Linked DNA regions of Homo sapiens: all the other regions are linked to region 3. Evidence: promoter capture Hi-C in 16 types of primary human blood cells and fetal thymus (Javierre and others, 2016). All regions are on one chromosome and are shown on one strand. Each heading gives the region's core, a stretch centred on a gene start or on the middle of the fragment in contact. The rest is flanking DNA. Distances are from core to core; before and after follow the strand shown.

Evidence for each region. The method cuts DNA at HindIII sites, captures the fragments that hold promoters and counts their contacts. A CHiCAGO score of 5 or more calls a contact.
Region 1: a fragment that was not itself captured here is called in contact with the fragment with the promoter of GNAQ in region 3 in 1 of 17 cell types (neutrophils); the score reaches 5.1 in neutrophils.
Region 2: a contact is called between a fragment that was not itself captured here and the fragment with the promoter of GNAQ in region 3, in 1 of 17 cell types (monocytes). The highest score is 6.4, in monocytes.

What each region holds. Positions count from the first base shown.
Region 1 is chr9:79,564,589-79,568,484 of GRCh38, reverse strand. LNCARSR (lncRNA regulator of Akt signaling associated with HCC and RCC) reads left to right here and starts at 533. Exons shown (of 3, transcript NR_184113.1): 1 at 533-853. The HindIII fragment of the contact is 808 bases long and covers 1,395-2,202 here.
Region 2 is chr9:79,609,717-79,613,877 of GRCh38, reverse strand. TLE4 (TLE family member 4, transcriptional corepressor) reads right to left here. Exons shown (of 20, transcript NM_007005.6): 5 at 1,160-1,222. LOC124902329 (a long non-coding RNA gene) reads right to left here and starts at 1,153. Exons shown (of 2, transcript XR_007061903.1): 1 at 334-1,153. RefSeq lists an enhancer at 2,036-4,161. The HindIII fragment of the contact is 1,783 bases long and covers 732-2,514 here.
Region 3 is chr9:78,029,519-78,033,389 of GRCh38, reverse strand. GNAQ (G protein subunit alpha q) reads left to right here and starts at 1,579. Exons shown (of 7, transcript NM_002072.5): 1 at 1,579-2,290. The coding sequence starts at 2,155. RefSeq lists an enhancer at 1,496-2,390. The HindIII fragment of the contact is 11,535 bases long and covers 1-3,871 here.

The sequences.
Region 1 (3,896 bases), core at 549-3,048, 1.5 Mb before region 3:
ACTGTAAGTGGGGCTCATGGCCACTTTTTCTCCTTTTCTCTGCTGTGCTTCTCTCATTGCACTTCTCGCTAACTGTTGAGCCAAGCTATGATGTTATCTGGAGGCCTGTCTTATCCCTACCACAGAGTGGGGGGTAGGTGGGGTGTTCCAGAGTTTTCATGTGGGAGGCACTTGGCAGCAACTTTCATGTTAAAAGCTAGGCCTGAAAGCTCCAATCTTGAAGTGACATATGCCAAGCATGCTTTTCACTTTGGTTAGATGTAAATCATTTATTTATTACTTCACCAAATATTTATTAAACCTACTATGTGCCAGAATATGGGGATTTCACAATAAAAGTGGCTATTATTAATATGTTGCCTCTTAGCTCCAAATTCATCCTCATTGCCTGCCTAGTGAAACTGAATCTGAGCCCTTTAAATATTTTCCAGCTGTTAAAAAAGCTAGGTCAATAGAAGGCGCTGGAGAGACATTGCAGGAGGAAAGGGTTTGGTTTCCTGGTTCCTGGCTCTGGTTGCATACTGGGCAGGTTCCTACAGCACAGGTAGCAAGCAGCAGCACCCAGCAGCCAGCAGCTTCCTCCAGAAGCCCCTTAGGTGGCTTTGGAGCAAGTGCCTCTAATGAGTCACCTCCCTCAGCAGCTTTCCTTGGAACCCCAGAGAATGGATTTCCAACGAGTTCTGGAATGTGGATTTCTAGCAAGTTCCAGAAGGCAGAATTCTAGCAGGGCTCTCCTGCTATTCAGAAAGTTACAACTGTGCCCTCTCCAGCAAAGTCTGGATCTCAGCCAGCCCTAAGAGTGTGTCTGTGTCTTGGAGGAGCTCTTTTTGAGATGCTGTATCTCAGCCCTAGGGTTAGTAAGTAGCTGTTCCTTATATCTCTATTTCTGTATTATTTAGAGCTCTCTTTACCTCTTACCAATCTCCCTTTGATCCAATTCCCTGTTATAGGTAATAATTTTTTATATTGAACTTTCCTTGTTGAAATTACTGTTTTTCTCTCTTGATCGGATCCCGATTGATACAGTAAACAACATAAGCAAAGTGTCTTTCTTGCTGGAGCTTACATTCTGATGGGGGGAGATAGACAAACAGTTGCATAATATGAAGGAGTGACAGGAGTAGTAGAACTAGTTCAGATGGGAGTTCATAGAAGCCTTCTTGGAGGAGGTGACATTTAAGCAGAAGCCTGAATGCCTAGAAAGAGTCAGCCAAAGCAAAAATCACTGAGAAGCAAATTTCAGGTGGATTCAAAAGCCTCATTTGAGGAAGTGTTGGTGAATGTGAGCATTTTTTAAAGACTGGTACATGCTAGACACAGAGTAATATAAGATTAGGTCATGGCTACATCACTGGGTTCTGGTCACATTGAACTTCTTATGCCTAATAAAAGCTTTCATTTTCTACTCTGATTATAATAGCCATTGTGGAGGGAGAAAGGCTCGTAAGCAGGGAGTGACAAGATCATTACAAATATCAACTTGGTATAAGGTGCCCACGTTCATACTTGACCTAAGATTAAGAAAGTACCCTTTGTCATATTAAAGAATTATCAATTGTTTTTAATTGGGGGCAGCTGATAAAGAGTACAGAAGCACATATGCTGCCCTTCCCACACACATCCTTTGGTACTGCCACTACCTCACCCCCACTAATGAGTGATGGGTCCATTTTAATTTGGAAAGAGGATGCCTATGCAAGTTTGAATGTCAAGCTCTGCATTGAATATATAGCTAGAACAGCAATGATCATAGAGAATCAAGGACATGCACATCCATTTCTAGATCTGCAATTGACTTGCTCAGAAACCATCCTCCCATCTATGTTAAGATAGAGAGAACTGGACAGAAAACTCATTATTGAAAAAGATTCAGGACATCAATGCTAAAGAGAGTGACAAATTTCTTAACTTGTCTGGTTAGGTAGAGGTTTGTTGCCAGCTGCCTCAATGTTTAGTGGTGAAGACTGCCAAGCTATCTTTGTGTTGGGATGTCCCTTCTTATCTTGATGGATAAAAGGAATGTAGGTACCCGTTGCCTTTTTGTGGGGAGGGAACTTGGCTTGGGAGTGCAGTGGACAAATTTGCATAGGTACTAAGGAGGCTTCTGGGACAAAATAACTGTCCTTATTGAAACGCTACATTATTTGAATGCTTTGAGATTATCCCTAATTAAGTCTGCAGGCAAGAAGGAGCACTGAAGCTTTCTCTTCCCTCCCGGAGATTATGGTGCAGACACAGTGGTGTATGTGGGAGGGGCTATCTAGAACGCAGCTGAAGTCAACAGGAGAATGGACCAGTGACCCAAATTCACTAGCTGCAATACAGAGGCAGGAAGTATGGATCTTTCTCATTCGGAAATAACTCTTTATTGAAGATACAAATCTCCTTTTGGATTAGACATCCTGGCATTAATGGGGTGCTTCGGGATAAATAGCTGAGTGTGTGAGGAAGATAAGGCTGCATAGCACTTTTATAGGCACACCTTATGTCAACAATGGAGCTGAGGGAGACCCTGACTTCTTGCTAGTCTGAACAGTTGTCTTGAATAGTTAAAAAGAGCTGTGAACTTATTTATACTCTATAACAGAGATCATATCTAAGAAATACACTACTAAAAATGACTCCCTTACTTGAGGAACGCTCACATTGTCTTTAATTTTCTAGAATCTAGAAGGGATCTTTAACAGCTGCTTCTGTTTCATTCCCCTGCCTTTAAGCAAACAAGATATTATTATCCCCACTTTAAAGATTAATCAACTGAGGCTCAGAAATAAGTCACTTGCCCAAGGTTATATGGCTTGTAAGTACTGAAGCAGAGATCAGAACTCTTGTCTCCTACCTCCTGATTTAATACCTTGCATAAACCTGAATTCCACAAATGAGTATTCAATTAAAGTATGTAATTTGAGCACTATCCAACTCACCTGCCTGGTTTACTCCTTTTCAAGCAGATGTTTTATTGCAAAAATGGGGGCAGAGGGTGAATCAGGGAGATGACTGTGTTGCAGCTGCCACTGTGCAAAGGCTGAAACTGAGAATTACCATGGCTGCAGGAAGCATGGCTCACTCCCTTCAGCCTCCGACCTCAGAGTGTCTGAAGGCTCAGTAAGGAAGTTCCAAAGAGATGCACAGTGCTGAAGCCCTAGTCCTTTTACTTTCAACTAACAGCAGGGTTCACACCTATGCAGCTGCTCTTGCCGTGCCTTTCCACAGGCTCCCACTCTTGCTAACTATCACAACAGCCTATAGGGCAGACATTACAGGAGAAAATCTGCGCATTTCCTTTCTGAAATGAGTGGTGCGGGAATGGGGTAGGTGTAGGAAAGTGTAAGTAAACATCTTACTGCTTTGTACAAGAAAATAATTCATAAGAGTCTAGTATTATTTTTATTTATTTATTTTTTGAGATGGGGTCTCACTCTGTTTGCTCAGGCTGGAGTCCAGTGGCGTGATCTCAGCTCACCGCAACCTCCACCTCCCTGGCTCAAGCGATTTTCCCATCTCAGCCTCCCAGATAGCTGGGACTGCAGGTGCAGGCCACCACACCTGGCTAATTTTTTGTATTTTTGGTAGAGATGAGATTTCACCATGTTGCCCATGCTGGTCTCTAACTCCTGAGCTCAAGCCATCTAACCACCTCAGCCTCCCAAAGCTCTGGTATTACAGACATGAGCCACCACGCTTGGCTGGAAAGTCTAGTATTATTTTCATTAGAACTGGGGGTCAATTCACGGTCTACCATGATCTGGCTAACTTTGGGTAACCCCTTTAACCTTTCTGGTCTCATCTATGTTGTGTTTTATCCTTAAGGGAGGTAAGTATGATCTCTAAACCCCTTTCCCCTAAATGCAAACATTTGCTGCTCTAAAAAATGTTGTATTTTATCATCTCAGAGT
Region 2 (4,161 bases), core at 374-2,873, 1.6 Mb before region 3:
TGCCCCCTCCCCAGTATATACCTATGAAGGGTACCCATAGTTACTCAAGTCTAACCCAGTCCAGACCAAAGAAAAAAATCATATACAGCAATCTGCATATCTATAATACACATGCAGGCTCAAATATTGGCCACATAACATTGGCACATGCCCGCTGGCAAGCAGGTGAATGAACCTCTCTCCTGAAAAGCAGTGACACAACACACTTATAGAACAACTGAAAGGGTAGGAAGAAAAGTGCCTCTGTGCCTTCTCAGCCCACAGCACAAAGTATTGCGGCTACAAGACATGCAGATATTTCATTAGCTCCTTCCTTCTTAGAGTGGATCTTACCTGAGCAAATGAAGGCATTCAGTAATCCAGAAGCAAAAAATTATCTTTTTCCAGTATTCTCACTTCAACTTTGTAACTACCAAAAGTAAGCAGGGAGAGAAAAAAAAACCACAAGGAAGCCAACAAGCACTAGAAATGCATCGCTTTATTCCAACCTGTGCCTGTTTGCTGATGGCATGCACTTCCCCTGTAGGTGAGCAAGAGAACTAGTGAGCCGCATGCCAGGCCTTAGCAATGTGCTAAGCCTACCATCACCAAAGCCTAATTTTGAGAAAAGTGGCACTCAGAGAAACGAGTTCAATGAGTTCATCTTGCAGGTCTTTTCCCAAAAGCACAATAATATAAAGACTTAATCAGGAAACAAGAAGTAAATGTTTAAAAGTAGCTAGCCAAAAGCTTCATTAGTTTGTTTACTACAAAAAGTCTTTCCATTTGATATGTCTTCTGCCAATTCTTAATGCCCAATGACAATAGTACAGAGTAAGCTCCTGTTTTCCTGGCAATTTTTCAGTCTACCCTATTAGGTACCATTATGACAAACAAGCATAATTCTGAGCAACACGACAAAGATAGCAAAATATTTTAACGACTGAATTTTGCTTAGCCCAACTAGAAAATATTCCATTATGTAAACACATATAAATTATATCCCACAGAAAGTTACTAAGGTATACAAGTTGGAGTGAGAACACTGTTTCTTAGAAATGAAAATAAAATACAAACACCAAGAGACTGGCAAGGCCAGAGAGTCAGTTCTACAATCCCTTTTCTGCAAAACCACTAAAATGGCAACTTCTAGTCCAGTGCCTAAAATCAACTACCTTACCTCTTGGGACAGGAAAGGAATGACTTGTGCACAGATAGCATTCAGCCTCTTGACAATCTCTGCCTGCAAAAAATAAGGGAAAGGAAAGCAATAAAGAGAACAGTCAGCTGGTTACAGATTCCCCAAATATTAACAGGATGATATTAAAACATACTTTATAATTTGGCTGGCATATTTCCTAAGGAAGAGGAAAACTATCTCATCAGTAAGCCCATTAAAAGGAAGCAGTGACAACAGTGCCACATTAACAGCACAATTTATTAACCAGCATTCATCTTAAAAAGTTAACCTTCAAGCATCAGGGCAATATAAAATGGAATTTAATTTCCATGACTGGAAATCAGTTTTCAACAGCCTTCACCAGGACCCTTGCTCATACTAATGTTTTCCATAAAACCTGCAGTCTTCTAAGTCTTAAGAATTTAGATAAGTAAAGATACATTCTTTCCTACATCTCAACTCCATCAATTAGCAAATCATTGGATTTCTATATTTGTGGCCTTTGCTTTAAAAACATTGGTGCTGTGATTTTAAACTCAAGACCCTAAACTTCTGAAACAGCAGCACCCAAACAACCCAAAAAAGTTGGCTAATTCGGATTCTTACAAATTCTTGGAGAACAAAATGTTTTCTTCAACCATAAAAATTTCCAAATGTGTCCTACCAAGGTTTTCAGTGTGCAGAGGTTGAGATATGCTAAAATCTTATTACACTTAGCAGGAAGCAATCTGTATGTATCTGGAAACTATCCTTGGGAACTTTTTTTTTTTTTTTTTTTTTTTACTGTGGATATGCAAAAGTCCCAACAATGTCAAAGAACAGTCTATTCTCTAATAATTTTTATAAGTACAGACATTTTAAACCAATAAGATGCTACAGTAAGTTAAAAGAAAAACCACCACTACATGTTTTCTTTAAAAAGTTACTCACAGTTTTACCAATGTTTATCTTAATTTGTATTTTTCAGATGGTGCCTTGTATATTTTGTGATGTATAAATACACAGTTTTTTTTAATACACGTACATACAAAATAGTTTATATTTTAATGATGGAATGGAGGAAAGAGAGCTAAGAAGAATTGAAAGGCAGAAAATGTAAAGCAATTACTATCCCTAAGACATTCTTAAATTCCATCCAGGGTCAGTTCCTCATTTTATGTGAGGCCCAAAATGCCTTTTCTTGCCAAGTCATTACCAGAATGACAGTGACACTCTACTTGTGCAATCTAGGCTTCCTTCTTTCATCAGCAACCCTTCTAACTGTGTAGCTATGCAATCTTTTAAATGCCAGCACCTTAAAAACTTTACCAGCCAAAAGAAAACACAAATTCACCATGAAGTTTCAAATCCAAGCTTTCCATTCCAGCCTGCATTCCTAACAGTATGGACAAAAACCCAGCACCAATAAGCTGCAGTGAATAAGGACCCAACTGTGCTGACCTGATTTAATTTACTGCACTGGCCCCATGGAGCATTTAGCCATCCTTTAAGAATGCTTAAGCCACCATGAAGAGCTGCAATGGGAATCACCAAACCACTCTCCACCTGGACGAACATACCACAGTGGTTATGGGGTGAAATTCCAGGGTGAGCAATAAAAATAGAGTAGCATTCACCAGGCTGAAAGTACAGCATCTCAAATGCATTTGGTTGTTAAGCTTTTTGCAGGGAGAGGTGGAGGGGGAGAGAATAAAAGATAATGAGACACTTTGGGGCAGACCAAACTGATGATTCTAATGCTTAGAACCATCTGCCAAGCATATTTTCGTCATTATGTTGTTTACATAAATAAAATAGTCCCTTGCTAGGAGGGCTGAAAAATGTGTGGGCACATAAGAAAACTGAGTTCTTTAGTTCGCCTACATAATCTAGGCAATAAAAACGACTCTAAGGAAACTTATTCATCTGGTGAAATAAAATTTTGGACCTAGGCTGTATTAAGTCTGAGCAACTATTTTTTAAAAAAATTCTACATTTTCTTAAAAATAAATGTAAAAAGGAGAAGAGCCTTTTTATTCAATCACATAGGTTAACACACACACAACAGAAACGGGAGGGCAGAAACCTTCCAAACTTCCGTTAAAGATCTCCTTTTGTTTAAAAGACTTCTTAATTTCTTTAAGTTGTCATGCCAATGGATTTTCATGGTCAGGCTAATTGGCAGTGGGGGGGTGGGGTGTGTGTGTGATTTCATAAAATTAAGCAGGTCATTCTTCACTTTGAAATCTAAAGTTGCCTCGGAAACACTGCTGCTCCCATGGTCATCTAATTTCGCCTCTTTTGTCCCACAGGACCCAGCTTTAGGGAGGCATCATTTATTTACAGGCCTTTCCACTGGGCTTTAGCGATCAGCCAATAACACTGTGGACACACACTTCTAATGGCCTATGTTTTGAAACTGAGTCTAATATAATGGCGTGGGGCCCAAACTCCTTTTCCAGCACAGCCATTAAAGGATGTAGGTTATTGCTGTTGTCACCATTGATATTTGTCATTGTAATGTAATTAGGGCCCTAAAATGATGCATTACAGCCCTTGGCACAGCTTCTATTAAAATCTTTTCTTCTGCTCACTGAACTGCGACCTGCTTTCTGATGAATAACAGACAGACAGCTTTAGGGTAAGGAGCAGATTCATCAAAGAAGTATTTTTCAGCTTTGGGGAAAGAAGGAAAAAAAGGCAACCTAGGAGGAAAAGCAATAGGGGAGGAAAAGCCACAACACACATTTGAATTTCATCTGACCACTTGAAATTCTGATTGCATCTGATGAATCTTGCTTAGACAATATATTCCCAGTCTTTGAATCACATGGTTAATCAGGGCTCTAATCTGCTATCCATCAGGCTACGCCAGTACTGTTAGCTTCCAATCAAATTTATAGGTGATGTGGGTCATGCATCCCTGAGCAAGTACATTCACAGATAGCCCATTTAAACAGGCAGGGATTCTGAAATATTGCTGTTAGGGTTACTAGATATTATAATGGTATTTGATGCTTTAT
Region 3 (3,871 bases), core at 330-2,829:
CAAATGAAAGAAAGAAGGAAGTTACACACCTGTTGTCTAAGAACCCTATATGAGTTCTTGATCTGTAGCAAAAGCAGAGTCATGACCGTACCTTACACTCTGGATCAGCAGGTTGCACCAGGGACACTTCAGAGAACACATGAAACGTGAAAAAGCGGTTCTCTTCATAAAAGACAATTTTCTTTGAAGACCTCAGGTTCCTTTAAGGCAGGAAGCAATATGAGTTTCATCTCCTGGGCCTGATTAAACAAGATTATTTTCGTGTGCTATTTATCAGTAGACGATCACAATGAAATGTGCATACGACAGTTTACTGCCTCAATCACATATTGCAAATCAAAAAAACTAGAATGCCGTTTTGCTGGGGCCTCCTTAGTTTCTCTTCTATTTCATTCTTTCCTTTCCTTTTATTCCACATTATTTTACATTTTCCCATAAGTCATCCATAATTCAATCTCAGTCTAGAAGAGTAAATTCGATTACTCGGCGGCTAAACATCGTGTGCCTTCTCAGAAACAAGAGAACTTGTAAAACAAAAACAAAAACAACTTAAAAAAACAAAAACAACCAACAACCACCAAAAAAACAAAGGCATGAAAAGTTGGAACCTATCGGGAGGCTCTTGGAAACTTGGGCAGCTTCCTTTCTCTGTTCAGGATTTAGATTTCTATCTCACGTTACTTTGCGAACAGCTTCGCCTGTGAATCTCCCCCTACACCTCTGGGCACCGGTGCCAATTCCTTCCCTTCCCTTCCCCAGTAGCCCCACACAGTATAGAGGAGCTTATTTTCTAAGACTGCACCGGTGTCAGAGGTGACGTGAGAGTTTCTAACCGAATGGCGTTTTAGAAATAGGAACGGGAAACACAGAAACGGCTGAGGAGCGACCCCGTGGAGCAGACAGGCACAGCCCGGGAGCGGCGGACGCCAGCGCCGGCGCCGCAGGGAGCGCGTGCGGGGCTCCGCGGGGCCGCCTCCCGCGACTTCAGCAGGGGCCGCGGCCGCGCTCCCGGGCCGGTGGGCTGAGGCAGGCAGAGGCCGCCATATTCCTGTCTCACCACGCCCGGCCGGACGGCAGCCGCAGGTCGGCTGCGGCCCTGGCACGCAACGGCGGCCGCCGGCTCGGGCTGCGCGTCGGCGGCCGGGTCTGGCCCCGACTTCGGCCGGGGGCGGCCGTGACTGCTGCGCCCGCGGACTCTGCCGAGGGTGCGGGAGCAGTAGGCGTCCGCAGAGCCCGCGGGGGCCGGCCCAGCCCGGGAGCCGCGCGGGCGAGGCGAGAGCCGCACTGGGAGGCGCGCCGCGGCGGCCGCGAGCCCAGGAAAGCCTTCCAGGAGGGGCCGGGCGGCACCGCCTCCCGGCTCCCTCCTCCCGCGCCCATCCCCTCCGCCTCTTCCTCCTCCTCCTTTCGCCGCCGCCTCCTCCCTCCCGGATCTGTGCTCCAGTTCAGAGAAAGAAGAAAATGTGTGTGTGTGGCGAGGGGGAGGGCTCGCACTGAGCAGCCGCTCCGCGCCTGGCAATCGGGGCAGGGGGTGGGCGTCTGGCGGGGGCGGGGGCGGAGGCGGAGGCGGAGGAGCGCGCGGTTGCCGGGCGGGACGGGAACCGGGTCTGCGCGCGAGCCGGGCGGTGGGCGCGGACAGGGCCGAGGGCGCCCGGGAGCCGTGTCAGGCGGCGGCGAGGAGCGGGCGCGCCGGGCGCGGGGAGCCGTCGGCGGCCGCTCGCTGCGGGGACACCCCGGTGAATGAGCTCTCGCCGCCAGGCGCACGGCGTAGGGGAGCCTCGCAGGCGGCGGCGGCGGCGGCGGCTCGGGGGGCGAGGCGGGCCGCCTGTTCCCGGGGAAGGAGGCGCGGGCGTCTGAGCGAGGCCGGGCGCGGCGGCCTTCTCTCACGCGCCCCCCGAGCCAGCGCCCGCCTCCCGCGCCCGCCTCTCTTCTCCCGTCGGCCCAGACTATCCGCTCCCACCGCGCCCCCGGCCCACCTGGTGGCCCCGGCCCTGGCCGCCGCCCCCGCGGCGGTTCCCGGAGCTCGTCCCGGACGCGCGCCCGGGCGGCGGGGGCTCGGCGGCCACCGCTGCCTCGGGGGAGCGAGGGCGGGAGGGTGTGTGTGCGCGCTGTGAGCAGGGGGTGCCGGCGGGGCTGCAGCGGAGGCACTTTGGAAGAATGACTCTGGAGTCCATCATGGCGTGCTGCCTGAGCGAGGAGGCCAAGGAAGCCCGGCGGATCAACGACGAGATCGAGCGGCAGCTCCGCAGGGACAAGCGGGACGCCCGCCGGGAGCTCAAGCTGCTGCTGCTCGGTGAGTACCGTCCGGGGCCCCGCCGGGCCTCTGCGCCCCCAGCCCACCATCCTTGGCCCTGCGGGGCAGCTGCCTTCGGCGCCCCCGCCCCCCGGCGCCCGCGGTTCGCCCCTACCCTCCCGGGCGCGCCCCCGGCCACTGCCTTCACCCGCGCGGGCGCGCGGGCGCGTTACACACAGACACACACACACACACACACACACACACACACAGCGACACACACACGCAGCACAGGGGTCGGGGCTGCCCTGCCCGGTGCCTTGGCTTGTTCCTTTTCGTGTCCCTGAGGGCTGTACCTTATCTGCTGTGCATCTGCTAAATGGCAGATCACTCCGACCAGAGGCGCGGGGGTGGAAAGGTGGGCAGAGGGGTTGAACTTCCAGTGTCGTGGCCGCGGCACCCCATGGGGTGGTGGCGTGGGGAGCCGTGTGTGTGGCCCAGCGGGTGGCGAGCGGAGCCGGGGCACGTTGGGGGATGGCCTGCGGTGGAGTGGCCGGTGTGCATCCATTATCAGTGCCCTATGGGGTCAGGAGGGAATGGGGGAACGGTGGGCAGACTCGCAGCTGGATTCCCGGAGCACTCATGGTGAGGAAGCCAAGTGGTTGGCCCTCCAAGGAAAGGGTCTGTGTACTGGGGGCGAGGCGGGAGGGCAAGCCCAAATGTGTCACACAAGTGCTGTTCTCTAGCCACCAGACCATCGAAAGGAGGGAGCCTAGAAGAGTTGGCCAGTGGATGGTGACAGGCGTTATTCTCGTCTGCACCATTCCTTCTAGATAAAGATGAGGGTAGGGGAGCGTTGTGCTGTGTGGTTGTTGACAGCGACCGGTATCTTTTGTTTAATGAGGCAACCTAGATGTAGGCCTCAGTTCACAATAGTTACTACCGAAAACCAGTGCAGTCTCTCAGTTACTCTCTTGGCAACAAATAGAAACCTTTTGTTTAAAACAGATAGCATTTTAATGTCTTTGGAATCTGGGCGAGAAGGAAAAACGGGAAGCATACAGGAAAAATTTCCCTCTAGTCTTGAAAAAAAAATTCTGCTTCAACACTAAGTTAGCAAGAAAATGCCATTTCTCAAATAGAAATTTATTGATGATTATCTCTGGGAGGATGTTCAGAATCAAGCGATCAGGGTTCATATACAAGCCACAGTGACAGAACCCTGAGCTACTGTGGCAGGAAGAGCAAACAGCTTTGCAGTAACGGGCCTGAAAAATGTCTGCACTTGTGTTCTGGGTATTTGCATGTATAATAAATGTGTTTCTCAAACATTTCTGTAAGAAAAGAATATTGTACTGTTAGTTGGTGTTTGTGAGAAGCATGCATTTTCTTTCTTATCTTGAGCATTCCATTTGCTGGCTCAAGGAACCAATTGCCTTTGGGAATGAACTGCTTATGTACTGGATCATTTACAAGCAGGAACAAAATATACTGATCACACACATAGTTACTAATAGTTAATTCCCATGACATGCTTTCTTTATGTCTTCATTTTGAAACTCAATTAGATAAATGTGCACATGTTTATAAAAAGCAGAAGGCAAAAGCACTGGATGAAAGAGTTGGGCTTAGGGGAATGAA